Linked DNA regions of Homo sapiens: all the other regions are linked to region 2. The links are contacts of gene promoters, found by promoter capture Hi-C in blood cells and fetal thymus (Javierre and others, 2016). All regions are on one chromosome and are shown on one strand. The core of a region is centred on a gene start or on the middle of the fragment in contact, and the rest is flanking DNA. Distances in the headings are between cores, read along the strand shown. Region 1 overlaps SIK3 (SIK family kinase 3). Region 2 holds the start of APOA5 (apolipoprotein A5). Region 3 has its middle 16 kb from the start of SIK3. Region 4 overlaps PAFAH1B2 (platelet activating factor acetylhydrolase 1b catalytic subunit 2). Region 5 overlaps RNF214 (ring finger protein 214). Region 6 overlaps SIK3 (SIK family kinase 3). Region 7 overlaps RNF214 (ring finger protein 214).

What was found. Contacts are between HindIII fragments. The CHiCAGO score rates a contact against its expected background, and 5 or more counts as called.
Region 1: a contact is called between a fragment that was not itself captured here and the fragment with the promoter of APOA5 in region 2, in 16 of 17 cell types (fetal thymus, erythroblasts, non-activated CD4 T cells and 13 more). The highest score is 15.6, in fetal thymus.
Region 3: a contact is called between a fragment that was not itself captured here and the fragment with the promoter of APOA5 in region 2, in 17 of 17 cell types (naive CD8 T cells, total CD8 T cells, activated CD4 T cells and 14 more). The highest score is 18.6, in naive CD8 T cells.
Region 4: a contact is called between a fragment that was not itself captured here and the fragment with the promoter of APOA5 in region 2, in 15 of 17 cell types (neutrophils, naive CD8 T cells, activated CD4 T cells and 12 more). The highest score is 16.9, in neutrophils.
Region 5: a contact is called between a fragment that was not itself captured here and the fragment with the promoter of APOA5 in region 2, in 15 of 17 cell types (naive B cells, total B cells, naive CD8 T cells and 12 more). The highest score is 14.2, in naive B cells.
Region 6: a fragment that was not itself captured here is called in contact with the fragment with the promoter of APOA5 in region 2 in 13 of 17 cell types (naive CD8 T cells, neutrophils, total CD4 T cells and 10 more); the score reaches 12.0 in naive CD8 T cells.
Region 7: a contact is called between a fragment that was not itself captured here and the fragment with the promoter of APOA5 in region 2, in 2 of 17 cell types (non-activated CD4 T cells and erythroblasts). The highest score is 6.9, in non-activated CD4 T cells.

What each region holds. Positions count from the first base shown.
Region 1 is chr11:117,092,143-117,096,255 of GRCh38, forward strand. All of the region lies in intron 1 of SIK3 (SIK family kinase 3), which reads right to left. Among named protein-coding and RNA genes, the nearest start is that of SIK3, 4.2 kb to the right of the region's middle. The HindIII fragment of the contact is 1,538 bases long and covers 1,333-2,870 here.
Region 2 is chr11:116,789,549-116,793,620 of GRCh38, forward strand. APOA5 (apolipoprotein A5) reads right to left here and starts at 2,331. Exons shown (of 3, transcript NM_001371904.1): 1 at 2,264-2,331; 2 at 2,038-2,149; 3 at 1-1,519. The coding sequence starts at 2,312. The coding sequence ends at 580. The HindIII fragment of the contact is 6,000 bases long and covers 1-3,265 here.
Region 3 is chr11:117,112,963-117,116,856 of GRCh38, forward strand. No RefSeq gene overlaps it. Among named protein-coding and RNA genes, the nearest start is that of SIK3, 16 kb to the left of the region's middle. The HindIII fragment of the contact is 2,465 bases long and covers 734-3,198 here.
Region 4 is chr11:117,153,136-117,157,120 of GRCh38, forward strand. The region is part of intron 2 of PAFAH1B2 (platelet activating factor acetylhydrolase 1b catalytic subunit 2); the gene reads left to right. Among named protein-coding and RNA genes, the nearest start is that of PAFAH1B2, 11 kb to the left of the region's middle. The HindIII fragment of the contact is 8,620 bases long and covers 1-3,985 here.
Region 5 is chr11:117,241,189-117,245,376 of GRCh38, forward strand. It overlaps RNF214 (ring finger protein 214), which reads left to right. Exons shown (of 15, transcript NM_207343.4): 5 at 3,257-3,397. Among named protein-coding and RNA genes, the nearest start is that of RNF214, 11 kb to the left of the region's middle. The HindIII fragment of the contact is 1,890 bases long and covers 812-2,701 here.
Region 6 is chr11:117,054,623-117,058,336 of GRCh38, forward strand. The region is part of intron 1 of SIK3 (SIK family kinase 3); the gene reads right to left. Among named protein-coding and RNA genes, the nearest start is that of SIK3, 42 kb to the right of the region's middle. RefSeq lists a silencer at 3,691-3,714. The HindIII fragment of the contact is 6,637 bases long and covers 1-3,714 here.
Region 7 is chr11:117,280,438-117,284,791 of GRCh38, forward strand. It overlaps RNF214 (ring finger protein 214), which reads left to right. Exons shown (of 15, transcript NM_207343.4): 9 at 877-967; 10 at 1,163-1,261; 11 at 1,457-1,833; 12 at 1,967-2,099; 13 at 2,309-2,413; 14 at 2,678-2,773. Among named protein-coding and RNA genes, the nearest start is that of BACE1, 34 kb to the right of the region's middle. The HindIII fragment of the contact is 5,984 bases long and covers 1-4,354 here.

The DNA.
Region 1 (4,113 bases), core at 852-3,351, 300 kb after region 2:
ACCCCCGTGTCACACCCAATTCCATAAAATGGCCATAAGACCCAGATGATCTGGCCCCTCCTACATGTCTGGCCTCATCTTTTCCCATCCTTCCACTTGTTTGCTAAGGTACCATGGCATCATGACCTTGTGTCTAATCTTTGACCAAACCAAACTCACTTCTGCCCCATGGCCTTTGCACATGCCATTCCTTCTGTAAGGAATCTTCTGTCTTCCAAATCTTCCCAGGTTGGCTTTTTCTCATCACTCAGGTCTCAGCTCAAATATCATCATCTTGGAAAGAAAGGTCTTCCCTGACCACTCTATCTGAGGCAGCAGCCCCCCCCAGGGATTCTCTAGTCCGTTTATTTTCTTCCTGGTATTCATTCCTATATGAAATTTTTAATTTTTTTACATGTCCCTTGTCTGTCTCCTTCTACTAGAAAGCTCCAGAAAGGCAGATGCTTTTTGTCTCCCTTGTTCATTGGTGCACTCCAGACCCTAGAATGGAACCTGACAAAAAATTTTCATTCAATAAATGTGTTGAATGAATAAATGATTAAGGGAAAGGTTCCATCTCTATGCAGATGTCTTAGGTGTTGTTTTACAGTTACAGTGGCTCTGGTGAGTAGAAAGCATTTCTTTTTCTTTTCAAAGCATCCATTTTGTTCTCTTTTACGCGATGAACTAGAAAACATTAGCCAGACTGAAGCCTGAAAAATGAAAACAGCACTTCTGGCACAGAAATAACTAGTCTGGGCACCTCTGGCTTGAGCGAGATCTATGACTTTCTAGGGAGCTGGCACCAAAGTCAAAATGTTAAAATAAACATCTTTGATGTAGAAAATGGAATACTGGTATTTTGACTCTGGAGAGACTAGTCTCAATCAGTCTTAGCTCTTTACAAAATTTCAAAAACGTTTAGCAACCCCATCACCACTGTATCAAACTGAACATAATCATCTTTCAATAGTCACTTCTAGATTGTCTAGGGATGGGGCTATCTTCCTCAAATGTATCTAATGTAAATTCTGCTTTCAATTTCTTTTTGACATAATTCTCTCCTACTTACCAAATGAATCTTGTTTTCAGTTTTCTAATGGGTGAAAGCATCATCTCATGTGCTTCGTTAAACTCTTCTTTAGAGGTGAAAATAATGCTTTTAGCCCACTTTGACTTGTTCTCCTCATGGAAATGAGTTTGCACTAAACCACACCGATGTGTCTGGCTAGTCAATATTTGGAAAGGGGTCATAGGGCAAAATGTCTTCTCTGTGTAATATTTAAAGTTAAGAATTCTGACCTTGGCCGTCTAAGGCCTTTGCTTGTGCACGCAAGGGCAAATGTGTCCTTAAGCTTGCAGAAACATTTCTTAAATATTTCACTTAAACCTAATTTAAGTGGACCTCTGGAGAAAAGACTGCACTCAACTCTGTTCCATCATCAACATAACAAAAATTAGTTACACAAAACACACTGAAAATTCAAGGCAGCCCAAAGCAAAAGCCAGTGTTGGTCACAGTTTTCATTAGATAAGTCACATTGCTATTTAAAAAAAAAAAAAAAAGTTTAACTAATGAAAATTTATGTTTTAAAATGCTGATTTCATGAGATTAGCCAGCCTGTACCCTATACAAATTAAATCCAACTATCTCAAAGTGGCACCTGCAATAGTAGCAAACTTTTTTTTTACCAGGAAAGTCTATCGTCAGGATGGCATCTACCTACACAAAACTAATGGCATATACATTCATGAATCGTGCCCAAGGGGTGAGAAGCAAAAAAAGGAGGACTATTATTATGTCCATAATATTATTATGTTACTAAAACATCTGATAACGATGATGATGATGGTAATATTTACGTCATGCTATTAGGGCACCATGCTGCTCTAAGAGCTTTACATACACTATCTTCTTTAATCTTCATAACACCTAAACTTGTGAGGTAAGTACTACTGTCATCCCACTTTACAGATGAGGAAACCCAAGCACACAGAAGTTAAATAACTTCTCACAGCCTAAAAATATCCAACTATTAAGCAGCAAAAGATTCAAACTCAGGTTGCTTTATCCAAAGCTGGAACTCTTACCACAAACCAATAACAGGCAAGTGATATATATTTGTTGAAATATAGTTTAAACGTATTTGGCCAAAGGCTTTTATAGTCATGCATACTTTAAAAAATGCATATGGGCCAAGCATTTGGGTTACAGACTCATGCCTGTAATCCCAGCACTTTGGGAGGCTGAAGCAGGAGGATCACTTGAGTCCAGAAGTTCAAGACCAGCCTGGGCAACATAATGAGACCCCCATCTCTACAAAAAAAATTTAAAAATTAACCTGGTGTGGTGGTATAAGCCTGTAGTCCCAGCTACTTAGGAAGCTGAGGCAGGAGGATCTCTTGAGCCTGGGAGTTGGAGGTTACAGTGAACTCTGGCAGTGTCACTGCACTCTAGCCTGGGTGACAGAGTAAGACCCTGCCCCAATATTTTAAAAAAGGAAAAAAAATGCATACAAAATCTATCTACTCTTTGTTCCCAATCATCCAACTAGTGAAGGTATAATTAGGCACAGGCAACAGACTACCTGCAATTTGAGAGCAGAAAACATTCTTTTTTAAAAATATCTGTAATACTTTATAGTTTCCTACCAAAAAAAAAAACAGAGCCAGAGAACCTCAGGCTAAGTAAGGCTCTTCCAAAGAAAAGGAAATCAAAGCAGGTAGGACAAAGACAGCCAGGGTGAGCTACTAACCAAAGTATGTCACAGCTGAACATTCTCTCCTGGTAACTGTTCTGCAGTGCCGCTCTAAGCACTGCAGTGCTGCCAATATGAAGTCTGAGCTCATGAATGCCGTGCTGCAAAAGTAACCAACAACCAAATAGGAAAAGCTTCACTTTTCTCTACTGATTTTATTCATCCCAGGATCCCACTCTAGACGGTTTGAGAGTTAACAGAATTTGGGAAAGGGCCAGCTTAACCACGCAGTATTGGATGGAGTGCAGTATCCTACTCAATAAATGAGGTTTACTTTAGTCTCTTAGTTCTTGGAATGGGTCATGTGTGTTTAAAAAAAAAAAAAAAAAAAAAAAGGAGGGGGATCATAATTATTTCTAATGTTCAGAAAATACCTATTACCTAACCTCCTTCAGCCAACACAAGTATCATCTGAATTACCTCTGTCTGACTGTTATATATGGTTATAAGAAAACCCAGACCATTTCCTACAAGGGGAAAAAAAAATCACACACCTCTAAAAGACAAAACAACAAATGACACATTCTGGAGACAGATGGGGGAAAAAAATAACTCTCTGTTTCCAAATGACCCCTCTGCAGAAGTAAGATAAAGGCTGCAGTGCATGGGGAGAAAAAAAATCAACCTGAGTTAACTGAAGCAGCAGCTTCGGCAACTTCTAGTACCTATGCACCTTCACCATTGTTATATAACCAAACCATAACCTTAATAGGCCATCGTACTGTATGTCGACAGCTGTTAGGCACATCTAAGCTGTCCGCATTTGAGAACCCCTTCCAAAGTGGATTCAGAGAAGCATGGAGCAGGCCAAAATATGCTCCTAGTTCACCCAGAGCACGTGACAACTCCTTGTGAATTAAGCTTCACTCATGTAGTCAGAGTAATTTAAGCAGCAAAAGATATAGCACTTGTAACTGTAACTAGGAAATTGCACACTGCTACAGAAACACAAATGAATGCTGGTGTGGCTCCTTCACACATGCAACTCATTGTCCAAGCCATTTCAGTCTCATTCAAGACTTTGAATATTTCCATACATAGGAATTGCACAACTGCATACCACAAATGATCAAAGATAAAAACCAACATAAACAGTGACACCCGTTTGTAAACAAGCCAGTGTTTAAAATGCTGCAGTCCTAAAGGATACCAAGGTCTCAGAGAAAAACTATGAAAAACACACGCACGCACATATACACACACATGAAAATTAGAAAGCGGGCAGACCAGCCATAATTAGGCACTGGCTTTGCTGACTACTGAAGATAGAAATGTCTCTTTTATATTAAAGCCAAGAATCAACTGTTTGCAATTACATTTACGAAAACATTCAACCCTGTCTGTAACAGATTTTATCAATATTTTGGTGTATCCA
Region 2 (4,072 bases), core at 1,081-3,580:
CTGCCCTCTCCTATCACAGCCCACACCTTTCGTACCCACCAGCATCAGAGCCAGCAGGGATATTCACACACCATCACATGTTCTCCCCATGATATTCTCTTTCTCCCTTCTATTCCCCTGATAGCTGCCATGGCAGCCCTGGGGAGACAAGTGCTCCTCTCTGTGGACCAGCTGTAGCAGTGGCCACCAGGCAGCCAGAAGTGACTAGAGCCAAACTCCAGGATGTAGTGGCACAGGCTTCCAGCATCACGGCAAACAGGCTTGCAGATAATCACCCACATGCATGGTGCCTCTCCCTCCCTACTCCCTCACCCTTGAATGGAGTAACTCATGAGCATTCCCAAATGAGCACTGGGAGGCTGGGTTTGCAAAGCCTGGTGAATGTAATGCATCCAGATTGGGGAGTCGCAGGAGGCTGGATGTGCAGGAGACAGCAGCCCCTTTGGTGGCCTCCCTGTCCTGCACAGGACCTTCCACCCTCCACCCAACAGGCCACTTTCAAGGACTGAACCATGCTAGAGGCTCAGAGCCAAGGCTCCCCAGACAAGGAGCTGGGAATGGGCCTGGGCAGGTAGATCCTCAGGGGTCCCCCAGATGGCTGTGGCCCTGGTCATGAAGGCTGTGAGTGATGTCTTCCCACAGGTCATCCAGACGGGCCTGCAGCTTGCTCAGAACCTTGCCACTGTCTGTTTGTTGAAACTCTGGGGCGAAGGCACTGTGGCCTGGTGGAGGTGGCGCCAGCTGCTGCTGGACCTCCTCAGTCTCCTGGTCGATGGCGCGAGTGAAGGCAGCTATCTGCAGGTAGGTGTCCTGGCGGAAAGCCTGAAGTCGCTGGCGCACCTCCTCGGAGAGCATCTGGGGGTCCGGGCCGGCCCCTTCCTCAGTCCCAGTGCCTGCAAAGGCTCTGCTGAGCTCTTCGCGCAGCTGGTCCAGGTTCTGCTGGATGCGTGCGTGCAGGGCCTTGGCCTTGAGCGTGAGCTTCCGGGAGAGCACCTGCACGCAGCGACTGAGGCGCGCGGGGCTGGCGGGGGCGTGCGGAGCCACACTGCGGTGCAGCTCCTGCACGTGGCGCCCGATGCCGCTCACCAGGCTCTCGGCGTATGGGTGGAAGAGCTCTTTGAAGCGGCCGGTGTGGTGCACCACGCGGCTCTGCAGTCCCTGCAGCAAAGCCCAAGCCTCGTCCACGCCCCCCAGCAACTGGGCCTTGGTGTCTTCCCCCACCACGCGCAACTGCTCCTGCAGCTCCTGCACGCGCAGGGCCACCTGCTCCATCAGATCCATCGTGTAGGGCTTCAGTTGCTGCCGCAAGCCCTCCAAATTCCAGCCCACCAGCTCGTGCGCCTCTGCCATGTAGGGCTGGAGGCGAGCCTTCACCTCCTCCAACTCCTCCTGCAGCTGCCGCCGCATGCCCACCGGGTCCTGTGGGAGCCGAGGAGCCTCGCTCCCACTCAGAGGCCTCAGCTTTTCCAGGAACTTGTTCATATTGTTGAGGTCTTGCTCAAGGCTGTCTTTCAGGGTCCTGGAGAAGGGGACAGATATCCAGGCCGTCAGACTGCTAGCCTCCATCATCTCCTTTGTCCCCAAGTCATCGCGCACTGATCCTCTGGGGGAACCAAGGACGCAGGGCGTTGGCCCCAGGGTCGAGGGCTCTTGTCCTAGCCCTGGCCAGTAACAACTCACGCACGAAGCACAAACACATTGCCCATACAAATCCAGACCTACAACACTCTCCAAAGAAACATAGATGCGCCACATCATCCTTTGATTCTGGGGACTGCAGCGGGCGTCCTCCCGATTGATCCCAGGTCCCGCGCCTCAGTGAGCAAGGGGGCAACAGCTACGGAGTTGTCAAGGCGGGGGCTGCAGGCAGAGGGCGCTAAAGAGCCCAGGATGGCCGGGATCTGCAGACAGAGCTAGCACCGCTCCTTTCCTCTGTCCCAGCAGCGGCCACAGAGGTTGAGGCAGCAGAGGCAGGTCATCATGGCATGGCCCAGCTGTCTCCTCCCTTCGCCTACACCCCTTCCCCTGGGCACTCACGCGGGCTCGCGAGCCATCTTCTGCTGATGGATCTGCTCCACCCTGCCTTTGTCCCCGCTGGTCTGGCTGAAGTAGTCCCAGAAGCCTTTCCGTGCCTGGGTGGCCGAAAACGCTGTGGAGAGGGACTAGGTAATCAGGGCCTGGGCTCTCCTCCCCCAGGGTGGACAGGGCCCTCTGGCCAGCCTCCACCCACACCCCCACGTTGAAGTCAGGGTCGGAGACCCACCTGAAAGAAGAGCCAGAGCCCAGGTGAGCACGGCAGCCATGCTTGCCATTACCTGCTCTGAGAAGACAGGTGGAGGGAGGCCTGGTTAGGGGAAGAAGGAGACGAAGGGACATGGCGCAGGGGACTTGCCCAGGGGGCCTCTGCAGGGGCAACTGCCCGAAATCCTGTTACCCCTTCCTTGGGCTGGGGAGCACAGAGCTGTTGGGGCTCAAGAGGACTGACCTAGGTGAGTCAAGGAGGCTAGGGTGTCTTCCTCAGACATGGGAAGAGGGCGTGCTCTTGCTACCTCAGTCACATAGCAGGGAGCGTGGTGCTCTAACCCCTTCGCAAAGGTCCCAGACCCCAGGAACAGTTCTCTAGGCCACTTCTACCACCTCTCCCCTGCCCACCTGTCTCCCTCCCTCCCATTTCATGGTGGAAAAACTGAGCCATAATGAGGGCGAAGAGGCAACTCTGCCAAAATGTTCCAAGAGGACGTCTTAGGGGCCACCCCAGGCTCTCCCCTGAGGCCACCTGCAATGCCCTCCCTTAGGACTGTGACCCCCATCCCTCTGCCCCAGCTGCTCACCTGCTCACGTCTGGGCACAGAGAGCAGACATTCTGCTTTATACTCCAGGGCCCTGAGCCTCTGGCACCAATTGCTCTGAGTAAATACCACGTGGAAGTTCAAAAGAAGTTGACCTCAGCTGCCTCCCAGCACTCACCTCCTGCCCTTTCCCTGGCACCCAGAGGGTTAATGAGTGCCCTGGTATCAGGGGCTGCCCCAGTAGAGAAGTGCTTCCCAGGAGCTTTACGGGGGATGGGGCTGAACTCCTCACCCAGTTTCTCCCAAACCCCATGACCTTTAACCTTCCCACTGACCTGCTGGCTGGCCCACCAACAGAGAAGAACCTGTTTGTCTGCCAAGGGCCCCTCTCTTACACAACTACCCAGAGTCACTGTGTCCCAGCCGGCAAGATGGACAGTGTTCACCTACCAGCCAGAACCCGAGCAGCCCCTGAAAGCTTCACTACAGGTTCCGCAGGCATCCTCAGCCAGCATTCATAGGGTTAAAGACCAACCACATCCCTCTTTATGAAACAATCCTGGAACAAGCAAGGGAAGCCAGGCAGGGTGAAGATGAGATGGCAAGAGGCATCTGGGCCAGGGACTCTGAGCCCCAGGAACTGGAGCGAAAGTGAGATTTGCCCCATGAGGAAAAGCTGAACTCCACTCGCAGGGCCTCTGAGGAGAGCAAGCCCAAATGCTCAGATCTTCTCTGATGACACACCCACTCCGTCTACAGTACTCATACACACGTTCACAAGCTCCCGATTCTTGGTCCTAAATGCATCTTGAATCAATCCCCTCTCCTCCATTTCCACTACCATCATTGCACCAGTTGTCTGTCACCTTGATTGCATTCATAGCCTCCAACAGGTCTTTCTACCACACTCCTGCCCATTTAATTCATCCTCCACTGTGGCTCATCCTGACTCATTTCCAGTCTCATCTGCTGCCACATAAAACCACGGCATTCCCTGAGCCTTTATACAGGCTTCCCTCTGCTTGAAATAGCCTATCCCCTGGTGAATATATATTCATTTTTTAGAGTTAGTTTGTATTAGTTAGAATTAGACTTGGCTGCAAGGGACATATATATGTGTGTATATATATACACACACACATGTATATTTTATATTCTTGCATACATATATGTATATATATGTGTGTGTGTATATATACACATATATATATACAAGATACTGCTCTTACCACTCATACTGACATCCCATTGGCCACAAGTTAGTCACATGGCTACACTTAGCT
Region 3 (3,894 bases), core at 716-3,215, 320 kb after region 2:
ATTACTGGGTATATACCCAAAGGATTATAAATCATGCTGCTATAAAGATACATGCACACGTATATTTAGTGTGGCACTATTCACAATAGCAAAGACTTGGAACCAACCCAAATGTCCATCAATGATAGACTGGATTAAGAAAATGTGGCACATATACACCATGGAATACTATACAGCCATAAAAAAGGATGAATTCATGTCTTTTGTAGGGACATGGATGAAGCTGGAACCATCATTCTCAGCAAACTATTGCAAGGACAAAAAACCAAACACCACATGTTCTCACTCACAGGTGGGAATTGAACAATGAGAACACTTGGACACAGGAAGGGGAACATCACACACTGGGGCCTGTCATGGGGTAGGGGGAGTGGGGAGGGATAGCATTAGGAGATATACCTAATGTAAATGACGAGTTAATGGGTGCAGCACACCAACATGGCACATGTGTACATATGTAACAAACCTGCACGTTGTGCACATGTACCCTGGAACTTAAAGTATAATAAATAACTTCCAAACACCAGGTATTTATGGATTCATTGTTTGGTAGAATTTAAACTCTCAGAGCAGGGTATTCAAACTCCTTTGCAACCTGGCCTCAACCTACTTTTTCAGCCTGTCACGTTTCATTTACTTTCCCACCCACCTTTCCCCACCCAGGACGACTGCAGGTTGTGTGCTTACTCCTTAACTTCTACTCAGCTTTTCCTTGTATTTGGAATACCTTGGAAGCTTTTCCATCTGTTATTTAAAATTCTACTACTCCTTGGCCAGGCACGGTGGCTCATGCGTGTAATCCCAGTACTTTGGGAGGCTGAGGCAGGTGGATCACGAGATCAGGAGTTCGAGACCAGCCTGACCAACATGGTGAAACCCCGTCTCTACTAAAAATACATATTAGCCGGGCGTGCTGGCACCTGCCTGTAATCCCAGCTACTCAGGAGCTAAGGCAGGAGACTCGCTTGAACCCGGGAGGCAGAGGTTGCAGTGAGCCAAGATCGCACCACTGCACTCCAGCCTGGGCGACAGAGTGAGACTTTGTCTCAAAAAAAAAAAAAAAAAAAATCCACTACTCCTTTAAGGTACAGCTAAACTCAGGATTTTTACAATCCGTAAAAATGTTTCTGGGTCTCCAAACATTTTGCCCATTCAGAACATAGAGGATTGCCTGAGCTCAGGAGTTCGAGACTAGCCTGGACAATATGGTGATACCTCGTCTCTACTAAAGTACAAAAAAAATAGCCAGGCGTGGCAGTGCATGCCTGTAATCCCAGCTACTCGGGAGGCTGAGGCAGGAGAATCACTTGAAACCGGGAGGCAGAGGTTGCAGTGAACTGAGATCACACCACTGCACTCCAGCCTGGGTGACAGAGTGAGACTCTGTCTCAAAAAAAAAACACAGGCTTTGGAGATGAAGTCCCTGGGTTCAAATCCTGGCTCCATAACTTATTAGCTGTGTGATCTTGAGAAAATAACCACTCCAGGCCTCTGTTCTTCAACTGCAAAATAGATAAAATAATAAAACCTGTCCAGGCGCCGTGGCTCATGCCTGTATCCCAGCACTTGTGGGAGGCAGAGGTGGGTGGATCACTTGAGGTCAGGAGTTCGAAGTCAGCCTAGCCAACATGGTGAAACCCCGTCTCTACTAAAAATACAAAAATTAGCTGGGGGTGGTGGCTGGAGTCTGTAATCCCAGCTACTTGGGAGGCTGAGGCAGGAGAATCATTTGAACCTGGGAGGCGGAGGCATAGTGAACCAAGATTGTGCCATTGCATTCTAGCCTGGGCAACAGAGCGAGACTCCATCTCAAAAATAATAATAATAAAACCTATATCATAGGAATGTTGGAAGGATTAAATAAATTACTATATATGAAGTACTTAAAATAGTGCTTGGTACAAAATTGGTGCTCTGTAAAATGACTACAATTATTATAATTATTAATCTACTGTAGCTTTTTTTTTTTGAGATGAAGTTTCACTCTTGTTGCCCAGGCTGGAGTGCAATGGTGCAATCTTGGCTAACCGCAACCTCCACCTCCCAGATTCAAGTGATTCTCCTGCCTCAGCCTCCCGAGTAGCTGGGATTACAGGTGTGTGCCACCATGCCCGGCTAATTTTGTATTTTTAGTAGAGACGGGGTTTCTCCGTGTTGGTCAGGCTGGCCTCAAACTCCCGACCTCAGGTGATGCGCCCACCTCTGCCTCACAAAGTGCTGGGATTACAGGCGTCAGCCCACCACGCCCGGCCTATTGTAGCATTTTTAAGTGGAACTTGCATTTCGTGTATGGCTGTCAGTCTAACTAGACTGCAATCCCCAGAGTCAGGAACCATATCTGTTTAGTTCACAACTCTATATCCAGCACATAACATTGTGCCTGAAAAAAAAATTATATAAATGTAAAAGTTTTATGGAGAATACAAAACATCACTGAAAAACCTAAAAGAAGACATATGCCATGTGTGTCAATGAACCTAATATTGAAAAAAACCTGTCTCAAAAAAAAAAAAAGGGTTGGGCGCGGTGGCTCACGTCTGTAATCCCAGCACTTTGGGAGGCTGAGACAGGCGGATCACGAGGTCAGGAGATCGAGACCACTCTGGCTAACACGGTGAAGCCCTGTCTCTACTAAAAATACAAAAAATTACCCGGGCGTGGTGGCAGGTGCCTGTAGTCCCAGGTACTTGGGAGGCTGAGGCAGGAGAATGGCATGAACCCGGGAGGCGGAGCTTGCAATGAGCCGAGATCGTGCCACTGCACTCCAGCCTGGGCCATAGTGTGAGACTCCGTCTCAAAAAAAAAAAAAAAAAAGAAGACACTTAAGCTGCATAAAAGCTAAAAATAATTTCCCTGGCTGGGCGAGGTGGCTCACGCCTGTAATCCCAGCACATTGGGAGCCTGAGGCAGGTGGATCACCTGAGGTCAGGAGTTAGAGACCAGCCTCACCCATATGGTGAAACCACGTCTCTACTAAAAATTAAAAAATTAGCTGGGCATGGTGGCGCGTGCCTGTAATCCCAGCTACTCGGGAGGCTGAGATGGGAGAATAACTAACTCAGGAGACAGAGGTTGTGGTGAGCCAAGATTATGCCATTGCACTCCAGCCTGAGTGACAGAGGGAGACTCTGTCTCAAAATAATAATAATTTCCCCAAAAAGGTAGTTGAATCTCTTTCTGTCCCCAAGACAGGTAGGAAGCTTTATTTTTTTCTCTGCCATTGTTTATTAGATCCTTTCTAACAGGTCTAGGTAAAATAAAGCCTTTTTTTTTTTTTTTTTTTTTTTTTGAGACGGAGTCTCGCTCTGTCACCCAGGCTGGAGTGCAGGCCTCTTAAAAAGTGTCTGGGCCGGGCATGGTGGCTCACGCCTGTAATCCCAGCACTTTGGGAGGCCGAGGCAGATGGATCACAAGGTCAGGAGTTCAAAACCAGCCTGGCCAATATGGTGAAACCCCATCTTTATTAAAAATACAAAAATTAGCCAGGCATGGGGGCAGGTGCCTATAATTCCAGCTACTTGGGAGGCTGAGGCAGATAATCACTTGAACCCAGGAGGCGGAGGTTGCAGTGAGTTGAGATTGCACCACTGCACTCCAGCCTGGGTGACAGAGTGAGACTCCATCTCAAGAAACAACAGCAACAACAACAACAACAAAACTTGTGTGCCCGCTCTTGCCAGTTGTATTCAACATGGTCCTGGAGGTTTTAGAAAGGGCAATTAGGCAAGAAAAATAGATGAAGTTGGCCGGGCGCAGTGGCTCTTGCCTGTAATCCCAGTACTTCAGGAGGCCAAGGCGGGTGGATAGCTTGAGCCCAGGAGTTTAAGACCAGCCTGGGCAACATGGAGAAACCCCGTCTCCACCAAAAATGCAAAAAATTAGCCAGGCATGGTG
Region 4 (3,985 bases), core at 629-3,128, 360 kb after region 2:
AATAGTCAACAAGAATTTGTTACTGTAAGTAAAAATGTAATGTTACAAATGTCCTGCCTCTTCACCATTCTGATGTTGGAACTGGGAAATATTTTAAGTTTTTTTATTTTGCAGTAATTTCAAAACTACACAAATGTTACAGAAATTTAGAAAGAAGTATCTTCATCTAGACTCACCAATTGTTAACATTTTACCGTATCTGCCTAATTATTGTGTCTGTATCTATTTTGTTTTAGTTTTTTTTTTGTTGTTGTTGTTGGTTTTTTGAGATGGAGTCTCACTCTTGCCCAGGCTGGAGTGCAGTGGTGCAATCTTGGCTCACTGCAGCCTCCACCCCCCTGCCACCCTGGGTTCAAGATATTCTTGTGTCTTAGCCTCCCAAGTAGCTGGGATTACAGGCGCCCGCCACCACGCTCAGCTAATTTTTGTATTTTTAGTAGAGACAGGGTTCTGCCATGTTGGCCAGGCTGGTTTCAAACTCCTGACCTCAAGTGATCTGCCTGTCTAGGCCTCCCAAAGTGCTGGGATTACAGGCGTGAGCCACCATGCCCTGCTGTGTCTATATCTATTTCTATATGTATATACTAACGTAGTGGGTTTTTCTGAAGCATTTGCACTCATTTCCCTTATCCCTGAATATTTCAGCATGTTTTCTTAAAAACAAGGACTTTTCTTAAATAACTATAGGATAGTTATTAAAATCATGAGATGTAATATTGATATAATACTATTATTACTTAATCCAAAGACCATATTCAGATTTCTCCAGTTGTCCCAATATTTTTTTCTTTTCTTTTTTTTTTTTTAAGACAGGGCAGTATACAGTGGCTCATGCCTGTAATCCCAGCACGTTAGGAGGCCAGGGCAGGTTGGGAAGTCAAGGCGGGAGGATCACTTGAGCCCAGGATATTAAGGCTACAATGAACTATAATTGTGCCACTGCACTCCAGCCTGGGTGACAGATTGAGACCTTATCTCAAAAAGAAAAAAAAGAAGTATACCACAGTTGATTTGCCCATTTTTTCTTTCATGGACATCTGGATCATTTATACCTTTATGAATAGTAACTAGGCCAGGAGTAGTGACTCACACCTGTAATCTCAGCACTTTGGGAAGCTGAGGCAGGTGAATCGCTTGAGCCCAGGAGTTCAAGACGAAGGAAAGGAAAAGAAAAGAAAAGTAGTAACTAAACTAGATATCTTCATTATTCTTGTCTTAAGTTAATAGGCTTCAATGAGCTCTGGCTGTAGAAAAATCAGTCAAATGGAAGAAAAACACAAATATTTTAAAAATTTTTTTGGAGACAGAATCTTGCTCTGTCAAGCATGCTGGAGTGCAGTGGCACCATTACAGCTTGCACCATTACAGCTTGCACCATTACTGCAGCCTTGGCTTCCCGGGCTTAAGTGATCCACCACCGCTTCTCAAGTAGCTGGGACCACAGGTGCATGCCACCATGCCGGGCTAATTTTTTTTATTATTTTTTGTGGAGATAGGGTCTCACTATATTGCCCAGGCTGATGATCTTGAACTCTCGGCCTCAAGTGATCCTCCTGCCTCAGCCTCCCAAAGTGTTGGGATTACAGGCATGAGCCACCGTGCCTGACTTTAAAAATCTTTTAAGCATTGCATACTGAAATATTTATACTTGGAATGATATATCCTCAGTTTGCTTCAAAATAGTCTGGGGATGGAGTGGGGCAGTAGTTGGGAGTATGACTGAAATAATGCAGGCCATAAATGATTGCTGTAGCTGGTAATTGATACATGGAGGTTTATTCTCTCTGAATGGAGATGTTATTCTCTCGGCTTTTGTATACATTTGATATTTTGCGTAATAAAAAGGTTTTGTTTTGTTTTTGTTTTTGAGATGGAGTCTCACTGTGTTACCCAGGCTGAAGTGCAGTGGTGTGATCTTGGCTCGCTGCAACTTCTACCTCCTGAATAGCTGGGATTACAGGCACCCACCTCCATGCCCGGCTAATTTTTGTGTTTTTTTAGTAGAGACGAGGTTTCCCCGTGTTGGTCAAGCCGGTCTTGAACTCCTGACCTCAGGTGATCCACGCACCTTAGCCTCCCAAAATGCTGGGATTACAGGCGTGAGCCACCACATCCCTGGCCTAAAAGGTTTTCTTAAGGGTAGTGTTGAAAGACTTGCCAAATAGAATAGAAATCGTATCAAAACATATTAACCAGAAAAATAAGGCTCAGCAGCAGACTAAGGAAAATAAACGCAGTAAATATTATAGATGAAGCATAGATACCTTATATTATCAATAAAAATATCCTAAAGGAACTAATATATAAGTATTTCAGTAGACATGATAGGAAGTGTAACTTTGTTTCCAAAAAGTGTAAATTAAAACATTAGGAAGAGAAAGAAAGAGAAACGTTAATATCTAATTCAGGTTCAAGTACAGTAAAACCAGTTCTAATATATTGCTGGAGTCCTTACAGATTAGCATATAGCCCTTTTGTTGAGAATTTGGAAATATGTCCAAAATCCATAAAAATACTGATTTATTTTGACTAAGAATTTCCAGTGTAGGAAAAATTATATATATATATATCCCTTTATCACACTTACTAGATTCACAAAAAGAGGCCACTGGCAAGTCTGTCCACAGGAAGAAGAGTGTGACCTGGGAGGCTGAGGCAAGAGGATTGCTTAAGCACAGGAGTTCAAGACCAGCCTCGGCAACATAGACCCTCATTCCCCTCACCCCCCAAAATAGCAAACAAAAATGTGTCGTTGAGTGCATTCAGTAGAGTATATTATGTGTAGTGGCTCATACCTGTAGTCCCAGCACTTTGGGAGGCTGAGGCCAGTAGATTGTTTGAGGCCAGAAGTGCAGCCTAGGAAACACACCAAGACCCTGATTCAACAAAAAATAGAAAAAAAAATTCACTGGGCATGGTGGTGTGTGCCTGTAGTCCCAGCTACTGGGGGGCCAAGGCAGGAGGATTGCTTGAGTCTGGGAGTTTGAGACTGTAGTAAGCTGTGATCATGCACTGCACTCCACCCTCGGTGACGGAGCAAGACCCTGTCTCTAGAAAAGAATATATGGCCATTAAAAGTTATGATTATAAAAACTGCATTGCTACATAGAAAAATGGTTCTAGTATGATGTTAAGTGCAACTATAACGGCTACCATTTATCAAGTACCTAGTGGGTGCCAGTCAATAGCTGGGACTCTTTAACAACTCTAAAATGGAGTTGCCAGCAGATGTTAAAACCAAGACACAAATTATGTACTTTCTTAAGATCACTGGACTGGAAAGTAGGTAAGCTAGAATTTGAATGTTGGTTTTTCTGGCCCCAGACATATAGTGCCAGAAAGAGGTGTCCATGATGCTTAAACTATGTAAAAGGGGTAACAGAGGACATGAAAAAAGATGAGGAGAAAACACTCAAGCATGGTCATAGTTACTAGGTTAAGGTGGTAGGATTATAGATGTGTTGTTTTGGTCCTTTCTATTTTTCCAAATTTATTACAACTATTACACTTTAGGAGAAAAGTACTAGAACCTTTAGCATAGCAGTCTTAAATTCCACGACTCTACAAATGCAAGCTATTTTATTGGTGTTGAAAGGTAGTTGGGGCCGGGCACGGTGGCTCAGGCCTGTGATCTCTCAGCACCTTGGGAGGCAGAGGTGAGTGGATCGCTTGAGTTCCAGACCAGCCTGGGAAACATAGCAAAACCCCATCTTTACAAAAAATGCCAAAAATAAAAGCCGGATATGGTGAAATGCGCCTGAGGCTGAGGCAGGGAGGATCACGTAAGCCCTCCCCAGCCTGAGCCTGGGAGGTTGGGGCTGCAGTGAGCTGCCCCTCATAGCTGCCACTGTACTCCAGTAGTCTGGGTGACAGAGTGAAACCCTGTCTCAAAATCTCAAAAAAGAAAAAAAAAAAGAAAGGTAGTTGGTACTACAGTACCTGCAATAGGGAGTTGACATGATAGGAAAAAGCACCTATTCACTAA
Region 5 (4,188 bases), core at 507-3,006, 450 kb after region 2:
AACAACAACAAAAAAACAAAAATTAGCCTGTAATCCCAGCTACTTGGGAGGTTGAGGTAGAAGAATTGCTTGAACCCAGGAGGCTGAGGTGGCAGTGAGCTTCTTGCTTTAGGCCGGGCACAGTGGCTCATGCTTGTAATCCTAGCACTTTGGGAGGCCGAGGCGGGTAGATCACGAGGTCAAGAGATTGAGCCCATCCTGGCCAATATGGTGAAACCCCATCTCTACTAAAAATACAAAAATTAGCTGGGTGTGGTGGCGCATGCCTCTAGTCCTAGCTACTCAGGAGGGTGAGGCAGGAGAATTGCTTGAACCCGGGAGGTAGAGGTTGCAGTAAGCTGAGATTGCACCACTGCACTCCAGCCTGGTGACAGAGTGAGAATCTGTCTCAAAAAAAAAAAAAAAAAGTTCTTATTGTAGCTTTCTCTTGAGCTTTATGGAATAAATCCAGTTCCTTTCCTGCTTGTTAGCCATGTGTATATTTGAAGTTTTTTTATGCCTCCTGCTCTTATTCTCTTACTCCCCAAGTTCAAACCTTTCCAGGTGAAACATCCTCAGATGTTTTTAGTATTCTTTTTGATACTATTTTGATACTATTTTCCATTTCTTTATCATCATTCTGGTTACTTTCACTTAGACATGTTCTATTTTATCAATATTTGTTTTAAAAAGTGATCTTGAGAACCATATATAATAGTACAGATACAGTATAATTACTTTATAATACAGTGGGATCTCTCAGTATCTCTCATTCTAGACACTATTTCTTAAGCTTACATTGACTTATTTTGGCAGTTTTTTCATACTGTTAAGCTTTTAGTCAAATTCCATCCAGTCTTTTTTTCATGTATTATTTACTTGTGTCTTTTTAATTTTATCCCCAGATAGTTGGCTTTTGAAGAGAACGTCACACTTACCTTTGTTAAAATGCTCCCTTTGATCCATCCCTGGCCTTTTGTGGCTAAAACTTCCACCTTTAAGTATATGGATATCTAAATGTACACTTTTTAAAGGGAAGGTAATGCTGGGAAAGGCACCCCAGGAAGAGGTCTTTAGGGTAAGATATGTTAATTTATAAAGAGTGGTATAAAAAGGGAAAGTGCTTGTAGCAACCAGATAAGAGAGTGGATATTTGGTGCAAGTTGAAGAAATTGAAGGGCATACGGAAAAAAGTTACTGGTGTACATTAACCAGATGAAGCCAAGAAAAGTTTTAAAATAGAGACTAGCAACTTGGGACTTAATTGTAACAGTCAAGTAGATGAAACAGGAACGAATGGAAACCCAGCAAGTTACTGGGCCAGAAGAGGCCCAGGGTTGAGTTTTGTTTGGCTCTATCTTTTGGGTGGTAGTGAGGTCCACATGCTTTTAAAAAGGCAGTGAGGCCGGGTGCAGTGGCTCACACCTGTAATCTCAGCACTTTGAGAGGCCAAGGCAGGGGTATCACCTGAAGTCAGGAGTTCAAGACCAGCCTGGCCAACATGGCAAAACCCCATCTCTCCTAAAAATACAAAAATTAGCCGAACGTGGTGGCGGGTGCCTGTAATCCCAACTACTCTGGAGGCTGAGGCAGAGAGAATTGCTTGAACTCGGGAGGCGGAGGTTGCCGTAAGCCGAGATTGCACCACTGCACTCTAGCCTGGGCGACAGAGTGAGACTCTGTCTCAGAAAAGAATAATCTACTGGTTTCAACTTTTCTTTGGTTAAGATCCTCTTTCAGAATCTTTTGGAAACTTTGAATTCTTATCTCAGAAAAATATATACATTCATCAGTTGCAGAGAGTTCAAAGATTCCGGGGTCCACCTGTAGAAGCCAGGTTCAGAATCCCTGGAAAGGTGTGATGCTGAGTAATCAGCTGTTTGGGACACATTAGTCACATTTCAGTACATGGACTAAAGATTAGCTTGTCCCAAAGCCAAGGTCCTATCTTGAGAGCCTTTTTTATTAATTAATTAATTAATTTATTTATTTATTTTGAGACGGAGTCTCGCTCTGTCACCCAGTCTGGACTGCAGGGGCACAGTCTCTGCTCACTGCAACCTCTGCCTACCAGGTTCAAGTGATTCTCCTGCCTCAGCCTCCCAAGTAGCTGGGATTACAGGCATGTGCCACCATGCCTGGCTAATTTTGTATTTTTAGTAGAGATGGGATTGCACTGTGTTGGCCAGGCTGGTCTCGAACTGCTGACCTCAAGTGATCCACCCGCCTCAGCTTCCCAAAGTGCTGGGATTACAGGCGTGAGCCACTGCGCCCAGCCTTGAGAGCCTTTTGTTAAAATGATTATAATAGGATATTTTCCTCATTTGTTTTAAAAATTTTTTTTCTTTGAAAATGGTTATTATTTAATGAAAAAATTCAGTTTAGTGCTCTCAGTTTAAATATTATATGGGCTACTTCATACTAAATGTGTTTTAAGTTGACCCTCTTCAAATTTTAGTGTCCCTTTGAAAGGTAACCATTGATTTTCTTGATTTACTGACATGGGGGTGGCAGAGCTAAACTGTTTTCAGAAGCACTTCTATTTATTTATTTATTATTGTTATTTTTTGGTAGAGACCAGGTATTACTATGTTGCCCAGGCTGGTCTTCAGCTTCTGGCCTCAAGCAGTCTTCCTGCCTTGGCCCCTCAAAGCTGAGATTATAGGCTGGAGCCACCGTGCCTTGCCTAGGAGTCTCTCTTCTAATCCCGACTTTATATGAAAGCTTGCTGAGTTGTTCAGTCTGAATACCAGGTTCCCAGGCCTCTTTAGTGGATCCATCAGTTTTCAGTGTTGTTAACCAGTAAGGAATCATGTTCCCGGACGCTTTTTTGAGACAGAGTCTTGCTCTGTCGCCTAGGCTAAAGTGCAGTGGCACGATCTCAGCTCACTGTAACCTCTGCCTCCCAGGCTCAAGCGATCATCCCACCTCAGCCTCCCAAGTAGCTGGGACTACAGTGGAGTACTGGCATGCCCAGCTAATTTTTGTATTTTTTTAGAGTCCAGGTTTTGCCATGTTGCCCAAGCTGGTCTCGAATCCCTGAATGCAAGTGATCCGCCCGCCTCAGCCTCCCAAAGTACTACAGTTATAGGTGTGAGCCACCATCCCCAGCCAATCTCATCATATTTTACTGAATATAGCCACATATGGCTAGTAGAGTAGCTTCATTATTGGATAGTGCGGTCATAGAGCTCTATACAATGCCTTGGACAGGCACTGGTGAATGTTTCTTGTGATTAAATTAGGAAATAAGCTTTTCTTGTCTTGTTCATAATAGGATAAAATGATGACAGAGAGAACCCTGTTGAAAGAGCGTTACCAGGAGGTCCTGGACAAACAGAGGCAAGTGGAGAATCAGCTCCAAGTGCAATTAAAGCAGCTTCAGCAAAGGAGAGAAGAGGAAATGAAGAATCACCAGGTATTTTGCTTATATTGAAATTGTCAATGAGTTAAGCAACAGTCTCTGATCAAACTTTAATTTTTTAAAAAACTTTATTTATTTATTTATTTATTTTTGAGACAGAGTCTCACTCTGTCACTCAGGCTGGAATGTGGTAGCATAATCTTGGCTCACTGCAGCCTCTGTCTCCTGGGCTTAAGTGATCTTCCCACCTCAGCCTCCCAAGTAGCTGGGAACACAGGTGTGTGCCACTATGCCTGGCTCATTTTTTGTATTTTTGGTAGAGACGGGGTTTTGTCATGTTGCCCAGGCTGGTCTTGAACTCCAGACTCAAGAAATCCACCCGCCTTGGCCTCCGAAAGGAGGCCTTTTTATTTCAGTTAACTCAAAAATAAAATTAAAGTTTGAGCCATCCATGCCCGGCTCAAACTTTAATTTTATTTTTGAGTTAATTGAAATAAAAAGGCAAGGCGGGGTGTGGTGGCTCACACCTGTAATCCCAACACTTTGAGAGGTTGAGGCGGGTGGATCAGTTGGGTCCAGGAGTTCGAACCAGCCTGGGCAACATGGCAAAATCCCATCTTTACCAAAAATACAAAAAATGAGCCGGGCGTGGTGGTGTGCACCTGTGGTCCCAGCTACATGGGAGGCTGAGGTGGGAGGATCGCTTAAACCCAGGAGGCAGAGGTTGCAGTGAGCCGAAATTGTGCCACTGCACTCCAGCCTGAGTGACAGAACGATACCCTGTCTCAAAAAAAGTATTAATACTCATAGACTTTTTTTTTTTTTTGAGACGGAGTCTCGCTCTG
Region 6 (3,714 bases), core at 211-2,710, 260 kb after region 2:
TCGGAAGCACAATCAACAGTACTTGATAGGCCAGGTGTGGTGGTTCACACCTGTAATCCCAGCACTTTGGCAGAGGTGGGAGGATCACTGGAGCCCAAGAATTCAAGACCAGCTTAGACAACATAGTGAGACCCCATCTCTATAAATAATTTTAAAATAAATAAAAATTAAGATGTTTAAAATGAAAATACAAAATAACAGTACTTGCTGACTGGTTGCATATGAAGGATAAGGAAGACAGGCAGACAGGCAAAGCTATCCTGAGGCTCTTTTTCTGGGCAGAACAGGACAAAAAGGGGATCAGCATTTAAAAGGAATAATAATAATAGCAACTAATATTTATTAAGATATTAGTATATACCAGCACTATGCTAAATACTTTTACAAGAATTATCTCATTTAATATTGATAAAATAAGTTCATTATCACCCTTTCATAAATGGAGAAATGGAGGCTTAAAGAAAATAAGTAGTTTATTCACGGACACAGTCACTAAGCACTGAAGCCACAGAAAGACTCTGACTTTAGATAAACTGAGTTTAAGATATCTGGGGAGGCATCCAAATGTAGATTTCTAACAGGCAGCTCAATATTTTTGTACGAACTTAAGCTAAGAGTACCACAGATACAGATTTATAATAACAATGTAACTATACTGTTGTTACTATTCCTATTATTAGCATTTATTAAGCACTTAGTGTACATGAGACACTATTTTAAATGTTTTACACACATTATTCATTTACTCCACACAATCCTGAGATAGGTAGCTCTAGTCTCCCCACTCTTACTTACAGAGAAAGAAACAGAAACATAGAGACAAAGTAAATCATTCCGTGTCTCTTAGGGAGAAAATAATGGAGCCAGATTCAAATCCTGGTCTCTCTGGTTTGGATGAGGGAACAGAAGAGAAGGTGGGGCTACAGGTGGGTTGGATAGAGGAGCCAAGGACAAAATCCAGAAGAATATAATCGCTTAACAAGTAGGCAGAGAAACAGGCACTATCTCATAGGATGGTTGTAAAGATAAGTAAAAGCACACAAAGGACTTGGCTAGGGCCACAGTTTGAATGTCTCCGCCTCTAAAAGTCAGATGTTGCCAACGTGATGGTATTAAGAAGTCGGGCCTTTAAGACATCATTAAGTCATGAGGGTTCCTCCGTTCATGAATGCAATTAGGTGCCCTTAAAAATGGGCTTGATGGAGGGAGTTACTCCCTTTTTGCCCTTCTGCCTTCTGCCATGTGAGGACACAGCATTCAAGGCATCGTCTAAGAAGCAGAGACCAAATCCCCATCAATGAACCTGCCAGTGCCCTCCCAGCCTCCAGAACTATGAGAAAATAAAATTCTGTTATTTATAAATTACCCAGTGTCAGGTATTCTCCTATAGCAGCACAAAAGAACTGACAGCAACCAAAGCTCTATCAGTTTGGAGGATGTGCTACAGGATGAGGAGACAGAAGAGAACCAACAGGGAAGTAGATATATTAAATGGAAAAGGATTAGTTAATAAAACAAAGTCCCTGGATTAAGAAAATGTGGCACATATACACCATGGAATACTATTTAGCCATAAAAAAGGATGAGTTCATGTCCTTTGTAGGGACATGGATGAAACTGGAAACCATCATTCTCAGCAAACTATCGCAGGGACAAAAAATCAAACACCGCATGTTCTCACTCATAGGTGGGAACTGAACAATGAGAACACTCGGACACAGGAAGGGGAACATCACACACTGGGGCCTGTTGTGAGGTGGAGGGAGTGGGGAGGGATAGCATTAGGAGATATACCTTATGTAAATGATGAGTTAATGAGTGCAGCACACCAACATGGCACATGTATACATATGTAACAAACCTGCACATTGTGCACATGTGCCCTAGAACTTAAAGTATAATAAAAATATATAGATAGATATAGATATAGATATAGATATAGATATAGATATAGATATAGATATAGATATAGATATAAAGTCCCCAAGAAGAAGTGGCAGAATGGGATCAGGACAGTGCAGGTGAACACACAGAGCTTCTATCTCACCTGCTAACGAAAGTATAAACTTGTCTGGAGGATGGTCTGGCCAACTCTTACCAACATTTCAAATATGCCCATCTTTTGATCTCCTCTTCTAAAACTTGGCTGTGCATATATACCAACCAAGGATATACCTACAAATTCAAGGATGGTCCACCTTTGGCAATATTGGTGAAAATGAAAAATGGAAGGAACTTAAAAGTCCATCAATAGGGGAAACGTGAAATAAAGTAATACACATCTATATAATAACATTTTACATAGCCATTTAAAAGAAACAGGTCAATACGCTGACATGAAAATATTTCTATAGTTTATTTTTTAATTAACCATTTCTTTAGAGATAATTGTAGAGTCACAGGCAGTTGTAAGAAACAACAGAGATCTCCTGTACCCTTTACCTTGTTTCCCTCAATGGAGACATCTTGTGAAACTATCGTTCAATATCAAAATTAAATTTTTAAAAAACTTAGATAATACTACATACATTACCCTTGTGTATTTTAAGTGTCCACAAAATGTGTACATGTACAGAAGAAGATTTAACTACTAGCAGTTGACACCTGGAAGTATAAAACGTTAAAGGAGGAAAAAATGGAAGACGTATACCTTTACTTTATGTACATCTGCACTAATTTTTCTTACGAAGTACATAAATTACTCCTAGAATATACAAGGCAAACAGGTAGAGGGGTTAGATTTTGAAATAAGTACAGGCACCTATTCTTTTAACCAAGGGAGTTTAATATTTGGAAGCAGTGGGGAGGAAAAGTGAAAAGGATCACACTGAAACCCTCTATTTCCTCAATTTAGTAGACTGGCAAGCTGTGATTCATTCAATAGGAACAAGTACTCGGTCACAGACTACTCCATGCCAGGCTCCGTCCTAGGCCATGGAAATTAACCAGACAGGTATGATTTCTGACCTCGAGGAGCTTAGAGCCTACCAACAAAGGTAGGCATTAACAAAAAACATTACACAGTTATACTCACCATTACAGTAGAGCACAGCAGTTTAGAACGTGGGCACTGGGGTCTGCCCGGGTTCAAATTCCAACTCTGCTACCAAATGGCTGTGTGACTTTGGACAAGTGACTTAACATTCCTCACTTCAGTTTCCTCATCTATAAGATGCAGATAATTCTAGGTCCTACTTATTTACCCACCTATACAACTCATAGGGTTGCTATGAAAACCAAAAAACTTCCTATGTGTAAGTGCTAAGAACAGTCTCTGCAACTCATAAACACTCAAAGGTTGCTGCTATTATTGTTGTTACCATCATTACTATTAATAATTTCAGAGGGAATCTAATCTACCTTTAGGCAAATGGAAGGTCAGGGAAAACTTTCTTGAGAAAGGAACACATAAGCTAAGTCCTTAAGATAAATACAAATTAAACATGCCAAGAAAAAAGGTGTCCAGCAGAGAAAAGAGCATATACAAAGCCCTGTGCTAAGAATGAGCTTGGCATGTGAAGGATCTGAAAAAGGGCCAGTGAAGCTAAGGCGCTAAGAGGACAGAGATGAGGCTAGAAAACCAGAAAGATCCTGTTAAACTTAAGAATTTTACCTCTGGCCAGGTGCAGTGGCTCACACCTGTAATCCCAGCACTTTGGCAGGCTGAGGCAGGCAGATCATGAGGTCAGGAGTTCAAGACCAGCCTGACCAACA
Region 7 (4,354 bases), core at 1,166-3,665, 490 kb after region 2:
TCTGTACTGTAACTCTTCCCTGCTACAGTTTTATAGTTTTGCATTTTTTAATGTTTTGTTTCCATTTGGATAAACACTATCTGTTAAAGCCAGACGTAATAGCATGCTCCTGTAATCCCAGCACTTTGGGAGGTCGAGGCAGGAGGATCACTTGTGCCCAGGAGGCCGAGGCTGCAGTGAGCTTTGATGGCATCACTGCACTCCAGCCTAGGTGACAGTGAGACCCTGTCTCTAAAAAATAAAAAATAACCAGCATCTGTTAACCTATAAAGCATAACAATGATCTTTGGAGATTCATTTCCTATGTAGTCATTTATTTTCTTTCTGCCATGGAACTTGGAGGACCCTTGTGGCATTTTCAGGCAGACAAGAACCCTCTCTCTGTTGTTGGTTCTCTTTCTCAATTACTTAAAAGATACTGGAGTTAAAGTGAGGCAAAGGAATTCGAATCTTGGGCTTCTCCTGCACCTGCTCCCACCTCTTCTCAACGGCAATTAGCCAGCTACTATTTTGCTTTTGCTATCTCAGAGAATTAGGAATAGGGCTTTTTTTTTTTTTTTTTTTTTAATGACAGGGTCTCCCTCTGTTGTGCAGTGGTGCCATCTTGGCTCACTGCAACCTCCATCTCCTGAGCACAAGCCATCCTCCTACCTCAGCCTGCCAAGTAGCTGGGACTATAGGCGTGAGCCACCACACCTGGCTAATTTTGCATTTTTTTAAGAGACAGGGTTTAGCCACATTGCCCAGGCTGGTCTAGAACTCCTGAGCTCAAGTGATCTGCCCGCCTTGGCCTCTTGTGCTGGGATTACAGGCGTGAGTCACTGTTCCTAGCAGGGCTTTCTTTAAATCTGTAAATTCCTGTTGGTTTCTTGAAAGGTCAACTCCCCCAACACTGGAGACAGTTCGTTCCAAACAGGAGTGGGAGACGAGACTGAATGGAGTTCGGATAATGAAAAAGAATGTTCGTGTAAGTGTATCTATGAGTCATCATTCAGTCAGTGTTAGTCTGTGCTTAACACTTCCAGCAATTGGGAGGTAGCCTTTTGCATTGCCATTTGGGGCCTATCCTACTATTCCTTTTGTTTTCCTGATAATGGATGGTGCTGTCTTTCTAGAGAGCCTGAGTCAGTTCAGCAGTAAAAATAATCCTTTTTTTTTTTAGGACCAATTTAATAGTCATATCCAGTTAGTGAGGAACGGAGCCAAGCTGAGCAGCCTTCCTCAAATCCCTACTCCCACTTTACCTCCACCCCCATCAGAGGTAAGAGAGTGGCTTTGGGGGGAAGTTCACCTTTCTGTGTTGGTAGCAGCAGCAGAGTCTTCTGCGTGTTCTTTTTATGAAGATATTGGGACCATCCCTATTCAGTGCAAGAGTTGTTCATTGATGTCTTCTCCAGTTTCCTAAACTTTCTTTTTCTTCCTTTCTCTCTCGTCCTCTACCTCTTCTCCTCTGCAGACAGACTTCATGCTTCAGGTGTTTCAACCCAGTCCCTCTCTGGCTCCTCGGATGCCCTTCTCCATTGGGCAGGTCACAATGCCCATGGTTATGCCCAGTGCAGATCCCCGCTCCTTGTCTTTCCCAATCCTGAACCCTGCCCTTTCCCAGCCCAGCCAGCCTTCCTCACCCCTTCCTGGCTCCCATGGCAGAAATAGCCCTGGCTTGGGTTCCCTTGTCAGCCCCCACGGTCCACACATGCCCCCTGCCGCCTCCATCCCACCTCCCCCAGGCTTGGGCGGTGTTAAGGCTTCTGCTGAAACTCCCCGGCCCCAACCAGTAGACAAACTGGAGAAGATCCTGGAGAAGCTGCTGACCCGGTTCCCACAGTGCAATAAGTAAGTACCTTCAAGGACTGATTCAGATGTCTCTATCAGAGAAATGCTTATGGGTTAAAACAGAGGAGGTTACATGGGTGTTCCCCGTGGGTATAGCATAGGCTTTCTCTCCCTCAACATTTTTTTTCCTCAGGGCCCAGATGACCAACATTCTTCAGCAGATCAAGACAGCACGTACCACCATGGCAGGCCTGACCATGGAGGAACTTATCCAGTTGGTTGCTGCACGACTGGCAGAACATGAGCGGGTGGCAGCAAGTACTCAGGTGAGAAAAGCCACTTGGGAGAGAACTTAGGCATGTTGAGGGCTGGGGAAGAGGTAGATTTCAGAAAAATGTGGGGTGGGAAGAAGCATTCCAGTCAGAGGTAGCTAGTCTGCTTTTTTCCTTTCCTGGACTGGGAAATAAGTGATTTTTGTGATATGCTCTGTTACTCAGACTCTCTTCCCTTACTCTGACAATGTTTCTACCTACAGCCACTTGGTCGCATCCGGGCCTTGTTCCCTGCTCCACTGGCCCAAATCAGTACCCCAATGTTCTTGCCTTCTGCCCAAGTTTCATATCCTGGAAGGTCTTCACATGTAAGACTCTTTTTCTTTGAACACTGTGATATGGAGAAGCTGGAGGTGAGGAAGGAGTGGGTTTACAGGTGGAGTGCAGGAAGAAACCATCAGTTGGGTTATTTGCAGCCCTACTGGGAAAATGCAAATATTTTAGGCAAGAATCTATATTTGGATTTTTGTTTCTTTTGATATAAATCTTTTTGCTGCATGGAATTATGGGCATAAAAGGCAAGGAGACCCAGAGGTTCCTTACCTTTTGATCATGCCGCCTCTGTTCTACAGGCTCCAGCCACCTGTAAGCTATGTCTAATGTGCCAGAAACTCGTCCAGCCCAGTGAGCTGCATCCAATGGCGTGTACCCATGTATTGCACAAGGAGGTAGGTGTTACAGACCTTCCTCATTTTCTACACTTTTTCTTCTGACAGCTAAAATAATTTTTCTTTCTCATTTTCTACTCTTTTTTTTCCCTGACAGCTAAAATAACTTTTCTTTTACTGTGTTGGTGCTCATCATTAATATCTTTTTTGTTTTGTTTTGTTTTGTTTTAGACAGAGTCTCGCTCTGTTGCCCAGGCTGGAGTGCAGTGGTGTGATCTCAGCTCACCGCAACCTCCACCTCTCAGGTTCAAGTGATTCTCCTGCCTCAGCCTCCTGAGTAGCTGGGACTACAGGCGCCTGCCAACATGCCTGGCTAATTTTTGTATTTTTAGTAGAGACAGGGTTTCACCATATTGGCCAGGCTGGTCTCGAACTCCTGACCTTGTGATCCGCCCATCTCAGCCTCCCAAAGTGTTGGGAGTACAGGCGTGAGCCACCGTGCCCAGCCTTTTTTTTGTTTTGTTTTTTGAGATAGGGTTTCTTTCTGTTGCCCAGACTGGAATGCAGTGGCACGATTATAGCTCACTATAGCCTCAATCCCCTAGGCTCAAGGTGCTTCAGTCTCTTGAGTAGCTGAGATTACAGGCACATGCCATCATGCCCAGCTAATTTTTTTTTTCTTTTTTAGTAGAGAGAAGGTCTTGTTATGTTGCCCAGGCTGGTCCCAAACTCCTGGGCTCAGGTGATCCTCCTGCCTCAGCCTCCCAAAGTGCTGGGATTACATGCGTGAGCCAGTGCACCTGGTCTCTAATGTCTAATCATAAGGTTTTCAGTAAATTGTGGCTTAAACATTAGCAGAATTCAGAATACTGCAGTTAGGATCTCTCAGCTTTTTACCCCATTCCCTTCAGGGGACTGGATAAGCAATTCATACTGCGCACTAAATAACTTTCTTGGAAAATTGACAATGAGTGATAATCCCACATATCTAACTATTGTTCAAAATGTAGCATTGTCAGAAGACTTTGCCTAGATGAGAGGAATGGAATGGAGGACCTGAGTATGAGATTAGTAACTCCATTAACAGAACAGCTTGGAGGGCTTGCCGGTTAGAGATTATCTTCACAGACTGACAAGTCATTCCTATTTTTTTATGTTGCCAGCAGAGTTAAGTCTCTTAGTAGCAGGGATGATTCCCTCTTAACAACATTTTGTTTTGTTCATTTTGCTTTTCCAAGAGGTAGAAACTGAATTTACATCTAAATTCTTGGTAAGAAAAATTCCTGAATAAGATTTGAGGGTGTCAGGTCTTAGAACAGAGATGCTCATCTCAGGCAAAATGGATCCTAAGGGGGAGCAAGCCACACTAGACATTCAACAAAAAGCAGCATCATGAACATTTTCAACAGCTCATTGTTAATGTTCCTCATAAAAAGGACAGGTTCACTTGCACTGAGGATTCTTTTAGGGTAAGAGCCATTGAATAGCCCTTCTTGGGGCCAGGCGCGGTGGCTCACACCTGTAATCCCAGCACTTTGGGAGGCTGAGGCAGGCAGATCACTTGAGGCCAGGAGTTCGAGACCAGCCTGGCCAACAAAGTGAAACCCCATCCCTACTAAAAATACAAAAATTAGCCAGGAA